Linked DNA regions of Homo sapiens: all the other regions are linked to region 1. The links are contacts of gene promoters, found by promoter capture Hi-C in blood cells and fetal thymus (Javierre and others, 2016). All regions are on one chromosome and are shown on one strand. Each heading gives the region's core, a stretch centred on a gene start or on the middle of the fragment in contact. The rest is flanking DNA. Distances are from core to core; before and after follow the strand shown.

Region 1 (4,006 bases), core at 977-3,476:
GGCCAAGAGATTACAATGAAAACAGAAAAGAATCTAAAACTGAATTTTAAGGTACTGTTATATTTAATAGTTAGGGAGACCAGCAGGAATATGCAAAGGAATCAGAGAAGCAGTGCCTAGGAAACTAAGGAGGAAAACCAAGAAAATGCAGTGTCAAAGGAAGAAGAAATGTTTAAGAAAGAATAGTGGTCAAAGTGTTGAGTATTGTTGAGAGGCCAAGAAAGATGAGGATTGAAAATGGCTCCCATTTTATTGATAAAAAAAAAGTGAAGCATTGAGAAGAGAACTTGTTCAAAGCCAACATAATTTCTTGACCCTCTCTCTGTTCCCAGAGAACTCATACTGGTGCACATGCTAGGGTCATTTATGTGTGGGTTTTCTTCTCTCCAAAGGCCATAAATTCCTTGGTCTTCACTTTACTTCACCTTACTGCATTGCATATTATTGACTACAATCTCTAGGTCTTCAATAACATTCTTAAATTATGTGTTAATCTCCTTCAAAAACAGCTGATCTTCTTTACTCTGCCTTTACATGTAGGCATGTCCCAAACATATTTTTTTAAATATAGTTTTTAAAAGTGCCATGTCTTGGCCTCTCCCTGGACAAAGGAATCAGAATCTTGAGGGGGTAGATTGCAGGATTCTGTATTTTCAAAAAGCTCCTGAGTAGGAAGCAGAGTAGGAAAGTATTAGCTTAGCGGTAAGTTTGGAAACCACTATCTTAGTCTCAGACCAAGCATAGTTGGGCAGTAAGATGGGGAAGCCACCCCATTCGCCCACACTCTGATAAAATCCTCATACTTTGAAACAATATACAGTTATACTTCAATTATTCCAAGATCAACTTGCCAGCTGTCTCGAAGAGGGCCAAATCCAAAAGTTAAGAAAAGGAAACATCTCTCACAGGGAAAGAACTTCTGATAGTGAAGAGCAATGAAAATATCTCAAGATACCACTGCCCTATTTACAACCAGAAGAAAAGAAACCTCTCATTAGCTGGCTGTGGACATAAACATCCCATCAATCTTCACCTGGAGCCGCAGAGAAAACCAGCCGAGAAAGGAGAGAAGAATGAAAAATAAACAGTAAAGCAGAAAGAATAAGAGGAAGGATCAGAGTGGATAGAGGCAGATGAGGAGATGAAAAGCAGTGAAGGATTTTAGAAGAGGTGATGAGAACATTCCAAAGAGGGAAAAAAAGAGAGCACCAAAGTAGGGATTCTATACACCGCAGCAATCCTCTGGGACTTAAACGTATGGCCAAGATATCGGTTTGAGAGTCAGTTATCAACAAAGGATTTAATTAGCCATTGTATTCTTTAAGAATATAGAGAATAATCACATTTTAAAGAGATTTCTGTAAAACAGTTTTAAAAATACAGCTATTTTAAAAGATCGCACAATTAATACACTGAAATAAAGCCCAGACATGCAACTTGTTACATCCATCACCATTTTTGAAAGGACAGTTCCTGAGGCTGGACTCACCGGCCCAAGTACTACCCCCTCCCCAGGTCTCCGGCGGCAACTGTAAGTCAAAAGCCCTCAGGCATTATTGCAGCGTCCCACATTGTTTGAGGTTCCAGGAAGTCGCTGCTACGCTCACTTGTAAGTCTTCGTGCTGTTGTAAAAATTGAGGTCGTGGTTTTCCACGCGATTTGGCTGGCGAAGAGACCACGAAGCCACCCCCCACGTTTTCAACTGAGTAAATATCTAAATATTTTTGCTTGCTATCCAGATCCTGGGTTCGAAGTCTTTGGGATTAGAAACTTCCAAGCCCATTTCAGAGGCTTCCTAGTCCTTGGGAGGAGTGTCTTTTAAAGCACCTGCCAGCCTTAAGTTCGCGTGCTTTCGGAAAGGGGCCGACAGGGTGCGTCTCAGGGGAGCCTTTTGAAATGTGGATTGAGAATTGTGTGAGTGTCTCTAGGAACCTCCATTAACTCCACTTTTCCTGAGTGTAGCTCCGAGCCTGGCCACAGCGGATGCTACCACAAGCCAGGCGCAGCCGGGCCTCGGGAGAAAGCCGGAAGCCCGAGAGGGTGTGGGCGCTCCGGGAGCCAAACGCGGCCGCTCAGCCGCCACGCGCCGGTGGCCCCGCGGGGACTCGCGTTCCGGTGAGAGAGCCCCGGCGCGGCGGGCTCGAGGCGGGGGTTCGGGGTCCCGGCCGCGGGCTCCGTCGGCGGGGCCCGCGCAGCCGCACTCGGCGCGCCGACTTCGGGCTCCTCCTCCCGGCTCCGTAGTAAGCATGGCGGCGGCGGCGTTCGTGGTCCCTCGGGTGAAACAGAAAGCGGGAGCTACGCGGAGAGGGAGCGAAGAGCGGGGCTGAGGCGGCGGCGTCACTGCCAGGAAACAACCCCAACAGTCAGCGCGCCGGCGGCCGCGGCGGCCCTGAGAGCTGACTCTGCAGCTGAGGTAGAGAGACAACGATCAGGAACCCTAAGAAGAGGCGCCAGAGGAGCCGCCTTCTGCCTCAGAACGGCGTGACTCGGAGGTGAGAGCGCGGGCACTCCCTCCGCGAAAGGCGGGGGACACCGAGCCGTCCCAACCCCGTCCCGCCCCGGAGGAGGCGCCGCGGAAACCGTTAGGCTGGGACTGAGGGCCGGGGCACTCTCCAGGGCTCGGCCCCGTCGAGGGGCGCGGACCACCCCCTTCTGTGGGCGCGCTGTGGGCAGAGGTGCAGAGGGGCAGTGGGGCCGGGGACAGGACCGGTCTACTAGTCGGGCACCTGCCGGGGCCGAGCCTAGCCAGGACACGCTTGCGGGGGCGCGGCCGGGGGCGCCATCCAGCCCAAGAGGAGGCGGCATCTAGCCCGAGGGAGGTGGCGCTGGTGCGCGGGCGGCCCTTCTCTCTGTCCCCCGCCTCCTCCCCGCGGCGAGCCGCGTAGCTCCGGAGGGCTCGGGGGCGGGGGCGGGGGCGGGGGCTGGGGCGGAATCCTCCTGAGAGGATCGCCCAGCACCCGCGGCGCCTTCGGCTTTGGCCGCCCGGCAGCCGCCGAACTTGAACGCTTTTCTGAAGAGAGTTTTCCCCGCTCATCTTGGGGTTAAAACCTCGAAAACCCGCCCTCTGTTTGATCCTGCGTGGCTGCTTCCAGTACCTGGCAGTTCCTCTCCCCGGGCGAGTTAACCACCTGTTCAGTCGGGAGGTGGACTCGAGGCTGCAGTCCTCGCCCGGTTTTAACAACCTGGATCTTCGAACTTTTGACACGGCTTTGGAAACGACGTCATGTGTTAGGTAAAGGAAAATGAACAGATAATTTCGCTGTCAGATTGCGAGCAGAAGAGGGACTGTTTTAATGGATGTGGTCGTTAATTGTTCTTTTATTCAACTGTTAGCGTTACAAGCCTTGGGATATTTTAGAGGGTGGAATGCGATGATTTGCTGGGGGTGCTAGAGATTGTGAATTCGAGATTTTCTTTTGTGAGATTTTACGTAAGTTCCTTTGGACACCTTTGTGTCTGACCATCTATTAAATAAGAGTCGCAGGCTGATGAGATTTTTTTTTTCTTTTTGCGGTATAATCATTATGTGTTCACTATGGGTTTTTAAAACCGAACAACGTAATTATTTTGCTTCTTACTGTGGTCTGTGTTTTTTAGTTCTTGAAACCAAAGTGTGTATGCTTCTGTATTGTAGGAATGAAATAACAGTTGAACTCTTACTATAATATTTTATCACCATGCTGTTACCAGCTCCAGTACTAAACATACGCCACTCAGGAGTTTGAGCCATATGTTAGGCAGAAACGAATTGAGTTTTGTGGTTCTGATCTTATGTTTGGATAAATATTTAGTTTTTGCGTATTTACTAACTCTTGTCATCTTGTGTCACCCACAAATGTTCAAGTGAGTTGAATCCCCTGTCTTTTGGATATTTTCTTGGTTGAATTAATTTTTCTTAAGTAATGAGATGAAGTACTCACTGAGACAGATGGTGGCCCAACAGAAAACAGTGATGAAGGATTTTTACCACATCTTTTATGAAATATAACCTGAAATGTTGCTTTTA
Region 2 (4,006 bases), core at 518-3,017, 3.7 Mb after region 1:
TGTAAATCCTGAATAAACCTTGTCTCCTTCACTGACTCTGCCTCTCTTCTTACAGTGCCATCCCAACTGGAGTCAGTGGGGTCCAGAAGGACAATTGGCCATTTAGATAACATTTGAAAACTAACCAAGGTAATTCACAGTAACATTAAAAAATACAAATGAACATTTCAATAAAGGCAGAAAAAGCAGTTGATATTCAATGCTTTCCTCCTGATGTTATGACCAAGACAAGGAAGTCCATTATCACTGTTTTTATTCAATAGTGGAAACACTAGCCAGCAACAAAAGGCAAAAATAAATAAAAATAAAAGGTATAAAGGTTACAGAGAAGTTAAACCATCTTTATTCGTGGATTGCAAGATTTTGATCACAGAAATTCCGAAAGAATCTACAGAGTATTACAAATAACAAGGGAACTTAGCAAGATGCTTGCATATAAGGTCAGTATGTTAAAATCAATATTGTTTATTCTTACGAGTAGAATATAAAAAAGTCAAAATGCCATTTAACATTGTATACAAAACACTAAATACTCAAGAATAAATCTAATGAAAGATATATATGATCTCTATACTGCAATCTATCCAAGCACAGCTGCATTAAAATATAGATATATGTGCAATCTACAAAATATTGCCAGGAGAAATTAAAGACCGCTTAAATAAATGGTGGGGGAAGAATGATATTCATGGATTGAAGGACTTGTTGTTAAGATACTAGTTTTCCCAAACAGATCTATAGATTCAATGCGAGCCCAATAAAAAATCCCCCCCCTTTTTAACAAGCTAATTCCAAAATTCACCTAGAAATACAAAGGCCGTAGAATAAGCCAAAACAATCTTGGGAGAATAAGTTACAGGACTTAAAGATTTATTATAAAACTACATTAAATTAACATAGTTTGGTACTGGTATAAAGTTAGACAAAGACTACTCCCTCCCGCTCCTCAATCTGCCCCCATCCCTAGAACGTGCTGGCAGCTTTCTCCATCCGATCTGCAAGGGTTAAAGGGCGCTGAGGAAGGGCTGACCGACTGGGGTGGGAAACAAAGCGGCACTGAGATAACTTCAGGCCACCTTCCTCCCCTCAGTACCTTCGGATGAAAGGTTTCCCTTCTTGGTCTGGGAAGCCCACTAAGAAGAAAGCCTGGGCTGTGGCGTTCTGGGGAAGTGAATAGTACGGCCGCCGGGCGCGTCGCCCCAGGAACCAGAAGGCTTTTTGCCGCTATTAGTGCAGAATGACTTCCGGCAAGTCCCAGTCGTTTAGAATCCCCAGCCCAAAGATCGCGGGGATCCACGCGTCATCCGGGCCTCTGCTCCCGGAAGAGACCACGCAGCCGCTAAAGACGTAATGGAGGCGAAAGGGCTTGGCTAGCTGTGGCAGCCATGATAAAAACTAGGGAAAATGGGAGCTCGAAGTAGCTTCCGTTATTAACAGACATACAAACGCCCCTAACCGCCACACGTTCCTTAGGGATGACAGTACGTTACAAAAGTGCTTCTAAAGTACTACTGAAAGCTCCGTGGGAGTGCCCGCTGGCGTGGGCGCGGTGGAAGGGAGGAAGAACGTGTACGCCCCAGGCCTCCGTAACCATGGCTGCGAGGGGCGGGGACTGGGAGCGCGGGTCCTGGGCCGGGGTGCGGCTGGGAGGAATCGGTCCTCCACTGTCCCAGCCGGCCCCGCGCCGGCGTGTCGCCTCCCGTCCCCCTAGCAGCACGCTGCGTGGCTGCTCGCTGGCTATTTAGGACGGAAGCTCGGTTGGTGTTTCTCCAGAAGTTTCCCCCTTGGGCGGTGGTGGAGGTGGTAACCGTGATAGTAGCAGCTCCGGCGGCAGCAACAGCGACTACGAGGGATGGCGGCGGCTGCAGCAGGAACTGCAACATCCCAGAGGTGCATGTTTTTCTTTCCCTTTGGTATTTATTTTATCCCCCTTTCCTTGGCTAGTGAGCCCTGCTGAAGTCGTTGTTTTCCTGACAGGTTTTTCCAGAGCTTCTCGGATGCCCTAATCGACGAGGACCCCCAGGCGGCGTTAGAGGTGAGAGAGCCCATTTCTGCTTCCTCCACTCTTCTTAGGGGAGCTGGGCCACTTCGGGTCCCCGCTGACCCGCCTTCTCCCCGCACCGCCGGACAGGGACCCAGGCTCTTGTTGATGCTGCGTCTCAGCTCCGGTATTGAGATTCTCCGTCTCTTTTCTCTGTTACACGGTAGCCGCGTTACCCCAGACTCCTGTCTTGCCCTTTCCACTCCCTACAGCTCCTGAGAAAAACCTCCTCTATTTCTTGGGAGCATGGTTGGCATTTGTAGTTTGGCTGAAAGGATTTTTTTTTTAATGACATTTATGATTAGAGAAGTGGACTCTGGGCTCGATGAAGTTAATTTTTTCGTTTGACAATAATTCTTGCCATTCTTACGTAAAAGTGTCGGTATGAAGTCAGTCTACTGGAGCAAAACCCTTTTCCCTCACGTCCCTGAAACTTTCCAGATGTCTTATCACAATTCATTATTCACTCATTTGTATATTCATCAAAATTTTTTTTTGGAGTGGCTGTGTGCAAAGGCGCTGATTGCTGTGGGTTAAAGTCTTGGTTATATACTCAGCTAACCTAGAAATCACTTTTTGTAGGTGTGCAATGAAGGCAAACCATAAAGCTGTAAAGGAATGTAAAAGATCAAGAGTTAAATAATAAGAATTAAAGGAGAACCTAAAGATAAATGATGCTGCGGGTCACAGAATTTAGCCAGGAGTTTTTGTTTGTTTTTGCGTTAAATCACAGAAAAGAGGAAACCTGTTTTGCTGTTACGTTTAACAATTTGAGGCAAGACAGCGTCTTTTCTAGCTATGACTTTTATAAGAAATGTGCCACATGGTACTAGAGCCTCCGTTGAGGAGATCTTTGAGTGGAGATTTGAAGGAACAAGGGAATTAACTTGGAAGCTCTGGGGAAAGAATATTCCAGGCAGGACCAAGAGCCAGTGCAGATCTTGAGGTAGGAATGAAGTTGGCCTGTATGTGAAGCAACAAAAAGGCCCTTTTTATTAGAGGGCCCATTTGATTAAGAGAGGTTGGACAGGAAACTAGGAGCCAGGTCCTATAAGGCCTTTTAGGGTCCAGGTGTGTTTTTTACACCTAAATATATAGACCTTTAGATACTGGGAGTAAGGCTTCTGGGATGAGTTTGGGGATAATGTTACAGGAAGCACTGAGAATTTTTCTCCATAATTTCTTGTATTAGCTAGACAGCTATGACTTTTAATTTACATTTGTTATTGTCGTGTTAGACCTAGTGCTTCCTTTGGGAATCCAGTTTATATAAAAGTTGCTTTTAAACAGTATTAACATAATGAATTTTATTGTCACTTTCCATCTTCTTTTACTTTAAAAATTTTTATGGAGGCATATATGATTTATGTAAATAACACAGATTTTAAGTCTATAGTTTGATGAGTTTTCACATGTTTACACCACCAGATTAAGATACAGAGTATCTCCATTCATAATGCTCCTTAATGCGCCTTCTCAGCCAGTAATTCTTCTTACTGTCCTGCTGACTCCTGCTTTGACCTCCATCACCATCAGTTAGTTTTGTTTGTTCTTGACTCATAAACAGAATCATACAGTAGGTGCTTTATTGAATGTAGACACTCTTTTTGCTTTAATGATTACATAAGTATACATTCATATTGTGTGAAGTAGTAGTTCTTTCGCATTGCTGTGTAATATTCCATTGTATAAATATATGTTGTATAGCCGTAAGTACGGCGCAATTTATTCTAACAGTGGACATCTGGGTTATTTCTAGTTATTAGCTAACAAAAAGCTTCTGTGAATACTCTTGTACATGTATTTTGGTGAACACATGCATTTCTTTTGGTTGTATGTACCTAGGAGAAGAATTGCCTAGGATAGTCATGTGGCTAGTATTAGTACCTTGGTTTTTAATGTATGGCTCTTGGACCAGCATTATCAGCATCACCTGGCAATTCATTAGAAGTGCAGCCGGGCGCG
Region 3 (4,006 bases), core at 760-3,259, 3.5 Mb after region 1:
AAATTTTAAAGTAAAAATTAAAACTTGCTGCTTCAACAATGTATCTTTCATATAAAACTACTAATGGTTGTTATTTTACACTGTTTTAAATCTATCACAGCTATACTGCCTGCCAGCAAAGGTGTTCCTAGTCTTCAAATTGGAGTTCCATAGAACAGTATCATGCCATGCTCTGCAAAAGCATGACTTCCTAGTGCTCCCTCAGGGAGTGGCACTGGAGGAGTCTCTGAGGACAGATCTAACACTGTCAACATTCGGTTCCTCTCAAAGGGGAGGCAAAATCAAAACACCGAGGAAGGGGAGGTGGATTAACCTTCCCATTTTAAATAGTCACAAAGATGTAAATTGGTAAGAAAGGAGAAAAAAATAGCTTGTCACTCCAATCCGGGGATGGAAGACTCATCTTGAGATCAAGATAGTTAAAGTGCCAAGGCAGGCTGGGCACAGTGGCTCAAGAGCCTGTAATCCCAGCTGTTTGGGAGGCCCAGGCGGGCGGATCATTTGAGGTCAGGAGTTAGAGACCAGCCTGGCCAATGTGGTGAAACCCCGTCTCTACTAAATATGCAAAAATTAGCCGGGCATGGTTGCAGGCGCCTGTAATCCCAGTTACTCAGGAGGCTGAGGCAGGATCTTGAATCTGGGAGGCGGAGGTTGCAGTGAGCCCAGATCGCGCCACTGCACTCCAGCCTGGCGATAGAGCGAGACTCTGTCTCAAAATAAATAAATTAATTAATTAAATTAAGAAGTGCTAAGGCAGTAAGTGAAGTTAGGTCCAAGCAAATTATTTAAGGAAAAGACCTTTACTCACTAATACAGGCAACACAGCCCATAGAAAATGCCCTAAGAGAGTCAGAGGACCTGGGTCCAATGTCACCTGTGCCTCTAAATAGCTGTAAGCACTTACCAGGAAAAGCTGAGTTGAGGAACTTATATCAAAGTACAGCGGAAAGTGTCGTTAATAAAACGGCAAGGGAAGAGAGGTAGCAAATTAAAACTTCTGGAAACCAAAAATGCTTGTGGGTAAATGAGTTTTAAAATTTTTCTAATTCCAGTTTATCCATTTCAATCCAGGACAAGATATTTCATAGTTTCAGTAAAGTATCTACAAAATATTTACTTACACTTCCTATTTCTCCTCTCGATTTGCAAACGCACCTTCTAAGATTTATGCTTGCACTACAAGGCACGGTCTACTATTAATATAACACTTTACAAAACACGCTCAGAACGCCTTTCTAAAGCAATTAGAAAACAAAACAAAAACCCAATAGCCTTTGGCAAGGGCATTCCAATGAAGCACTGATACCTCTTTAGGAAATCCTTTCGAAGCAATCCCTCACCCCTCTGCCCAGATATGCTAATCCCTCCGACTGCATAAGGTCCAAGCTAAAGCTTCCGCTGGGGCACGGACTGTACGGCCACCGCGCCCTCCTCACAGAAAGGCGAAACGGGGCTGTCCGGTGCCGACGCCGAGGTTGGTGTCGTCAGGGGGTCTGGAACCACGCCAAGGAAGTCGACTGCCGGATCGCCGCCCGGCGCCCGCAGACGGCGAGCGCTCCTTCTCCCGGGCACTGCAGCTGTGCGCTCCCGGAAGCATTCCGGGCGGAGGGAAGCGGCCGCGATCCGCGCCTGCTGGGAACCGTGCCAAAGTTGGGACCCGCGCTGGGGAGGCAGCCGAGCGCCCCACGCCACGTGCTACCGACCGGCGGGGAGCGCAAGAGCGCTGCACCCCGCACAGAGGCCTGCCGGGCCGCCGAGGGCCGTGAGCTAAGCCGGGGACCGGGCCGCGCCGACCCGGGCCGCGCTGAGCCGGGCCGCGCGCCCACCGGGGGTCCCTTCCGCCAGCCCGTTGGGAAGGTTGGCAGACGCCCTACCTTCTCCTCGCCATCGTAGATTCGCACCCCGCGCTGCTGGATCACCAGGGTCTCGTTGATCTCCAGGAGGCCGCTGGTCCAAACGAAGCGGTCCATGGCCGCTGCCACCCAGCCCCGGCCCTCCGAGGCCGCGAGCAGCGCGCCAGGCAGCCTGCGGCGCCCCCTAGCGTCGGACGGGACGGAAGCGAGTCGGGGCGGGTGAGGGACGGAGGGAGCGGCCTGGCAGCGAGCGGGCGCGGCTGCGAGGTGCGCCCGGGGACGTGGAGACGTGCGTGGAGCGCCCCCTGGCGGTCCATTAGCCGCCGGCCTTTCAGAACCCTTGATCAGCAGGCGGTCCACCCCATTCTAAATTCAGAGCTTACAGGGACGCGAGGGAGCCCCGACCACAGCTTGGACTTGCTTATTGTGCATTATGCCTGCATGTTTGTGGCAGTTTTCTTGTCAGTGCCCAGAATGTTGCTACATTCGCTAATGATTGTAAATAATCATAACCCCTCTCTTTCAAATGAATATTTATGGCACGCATTGTTTCTGTACAGCTGCAGTCAGTACTACCTGTGCTGCTCTTTTTTTCCCTTTAAGATTATATTGTAACACAAAGGATAAATGCTTGAGGTAACGGATACCTCATTTACCCTGATGTGATTATTATACAGTGTATGCCTGTATCAAAATATCCCATATACCCCAGAAATATATACACCTATGTACCCACACAAATTAATTTTTTTTTAACTGGGGGAAACAGATTTTATTTAACCGGGCTTGATGCGCGCGCCTGTATTCCCAGCTGCTTCCGAAGCTGAGGCGGGAGGATTGCTTGAACCCAGGAGTTTGACACCAGTGGGCGACATAGAAAGACCCTTTCCCCCTCCACCCCAACTCCCCCACGCCACTCCACTCCCCCACCCCCAGGCTCAGAAAAAAAAGATTATTTTTATTTAGGCATTTTCAATATTAATACAGACCTCATGCGTGAATTTACATTTCAATATGTAGTTCCTCTATAATTTAGCTGTTTGTTGGTCTGCGCAAAGCCATCCATGGCCGCTGCTCTCACCCACCAGGCGGCCTCGTGCCCCTAGCCATTTCATTTTTGTATTTTGCTTTATAAATGGAACACCTGGCCGGGCGCGGTGGCTCACGTTTGTAATCCCAGCACTTTGGGAGGACAAGGCGGGCGGATCACAAGTCAGGAGTTCGAGACCAGCCTGGCTAACATAGAGAAACCCTGTCTCTACTAAAAATACAAAAAATTAGCCCGGCGTGGTGGCGGGTGCCTGTAATCCCAGCTACTCGGGAAGCTGAGGCAAGAGAATCGCTTGAACCCTGGAGGTAGAGGTTGCAGTGAGCCGAGATCGCACCATTGCACTCCAGTCTGAGCGACAGAACGAGACTCTGCTTCAAAAATAATAATAATAAATAATAAATAAATAAATAAATGGAGCAGCTTATAGATGTCCTTCTACAATTGATACATATTTTTCTCTTTAGGATTATTTTCTTACAGTGTCTTCCTAAAATAGAATGACTGCTTTAAAGGTTGTGAACACATTTTAGAGAGCCTACCACTTATTGGGGTCTTAACTAAGGCTGCGTGCCCACGTGGGCAGAGGGGCACAGGGGCAGAGGGACAGAGGGCAGGCTTGCTCTCTGCCCCCAGGGCTCCACATTTCCCCCAGTCGTGGAGTCAGTGGTCTGTGGCTAGGCATTAAAAGAAAGGAAAGGCTCTTTCCAATGAGTATAAGCCATCTCTCCCCCGAAATGAATTGCTACTTTTACCGTGTTCCAAAATCCTGTGTGTATTTTGGTCTATTTCTAAACAGTGTCTTCTGTATTTCATATCTTTCAATTTCCATCATGACCATATACCCAATAACCAAAAGTTCTTTGAAAACATTTGATTTGCTGTAATATGCTATCAATATATATCACAATTTACCATCATTGCCTGATTTTTGAGCATTTGATTGTTTACCAACTTTTTAGTCTTTTTTAATTGAAAGTAATGTGACCTAAGCATCCTAATCAGATGTGGAACTGTGCAGTTATGCCTGGGCTTTGCAATTATCAACATGTTAGGCAGTGAGGACATTTGCAAGGTATGTTTTCTGCCCTTGAGGGATGTACAG

Evidence for each region. Contacts are between HindIII fragments. The CHiCAGO score rates a contact against its expected background, and 5 or more counts as called.
Region 2: a contact is called between the fragment with the promoter of SUGT1 here and the fragment with the promoter of FNDC3A in region 1, in 4 of 17 cell types (total CD4 T cells, naive B cells, total CD8 T cells and 1 more). The highest score is 6.3, in total CD4 T cells.
Region 3: a contact is called between the fragment with the promoter of VPS36 here and the fragment with the promoter of FNDC3A in region 1, in 1 of 17 cell types (fetal thymus). The highest score is 6.5, in fetal thymus.

What each region holds. Positions count from the first base shown.
Region 1 is chr13:48,973,686-48,977,691 of GRCh38, forward strand. FNDC3A (fibronectin type III domain containing 3A) reads left to right here and starts at 2,227. Exons shown (of 26, transcript NM_001079673.2): 1 at 2,227-2,492. RefSeq lists enhancers at 1,432-1,491, 1,762-2,381, 2,192-2,491, 2,382-3,001, 3,162-3,261 and silencers at 1,942-2,211, 2,542-3,021. The HindIII fragment of the contact is 6,136 bases long and covers 1-4,006 here.
Region 2 is chr13:52,651,069-52,655,074 of GRCh38, forward strand. It overlaps SUGT1 (SGT1 assembly cochaperone of MIS12 kinetochore complex), which reads left to right and starts at 1,768. Exons shown (of 13, transcript NM_006704.5): 1 at 1,768-1,890; 2 at 1,978-2,035. The coding sequence starts at 1,853. SUGT1-DT (SUGT1 divergent transcript) reads right to left here and starts at 1,239. Exons shown (of 1, transcript NR_170300.1): 1 at 237-1,239. RefSeq lists enhancers at 1,069-1,408, 1,518-2,019, 2,129-2,248 and a silencer at 1,499-1,768. The HindIII fragment of the contact is 4,517 bases long and covers 1-3,816 here.
Region 3 is chr13:52,448,625-52,452,630 of GRCh38, forward strand. VPS36 (vacuolar protein sorting 36 homolog) reads right to left here and starts at 2,010. Exons shown (of 14, transcript NM_016075.4): 1 at 1,875-2,010. The coding sequence starts at 1,970. RefSeq lists an enhancer at 1,596-2,176 and silencers at 1,697-2,156, 2,197-2,256. The HindIII fragment of the contact is 2,912 bases long and covers 1,391-4,006 here.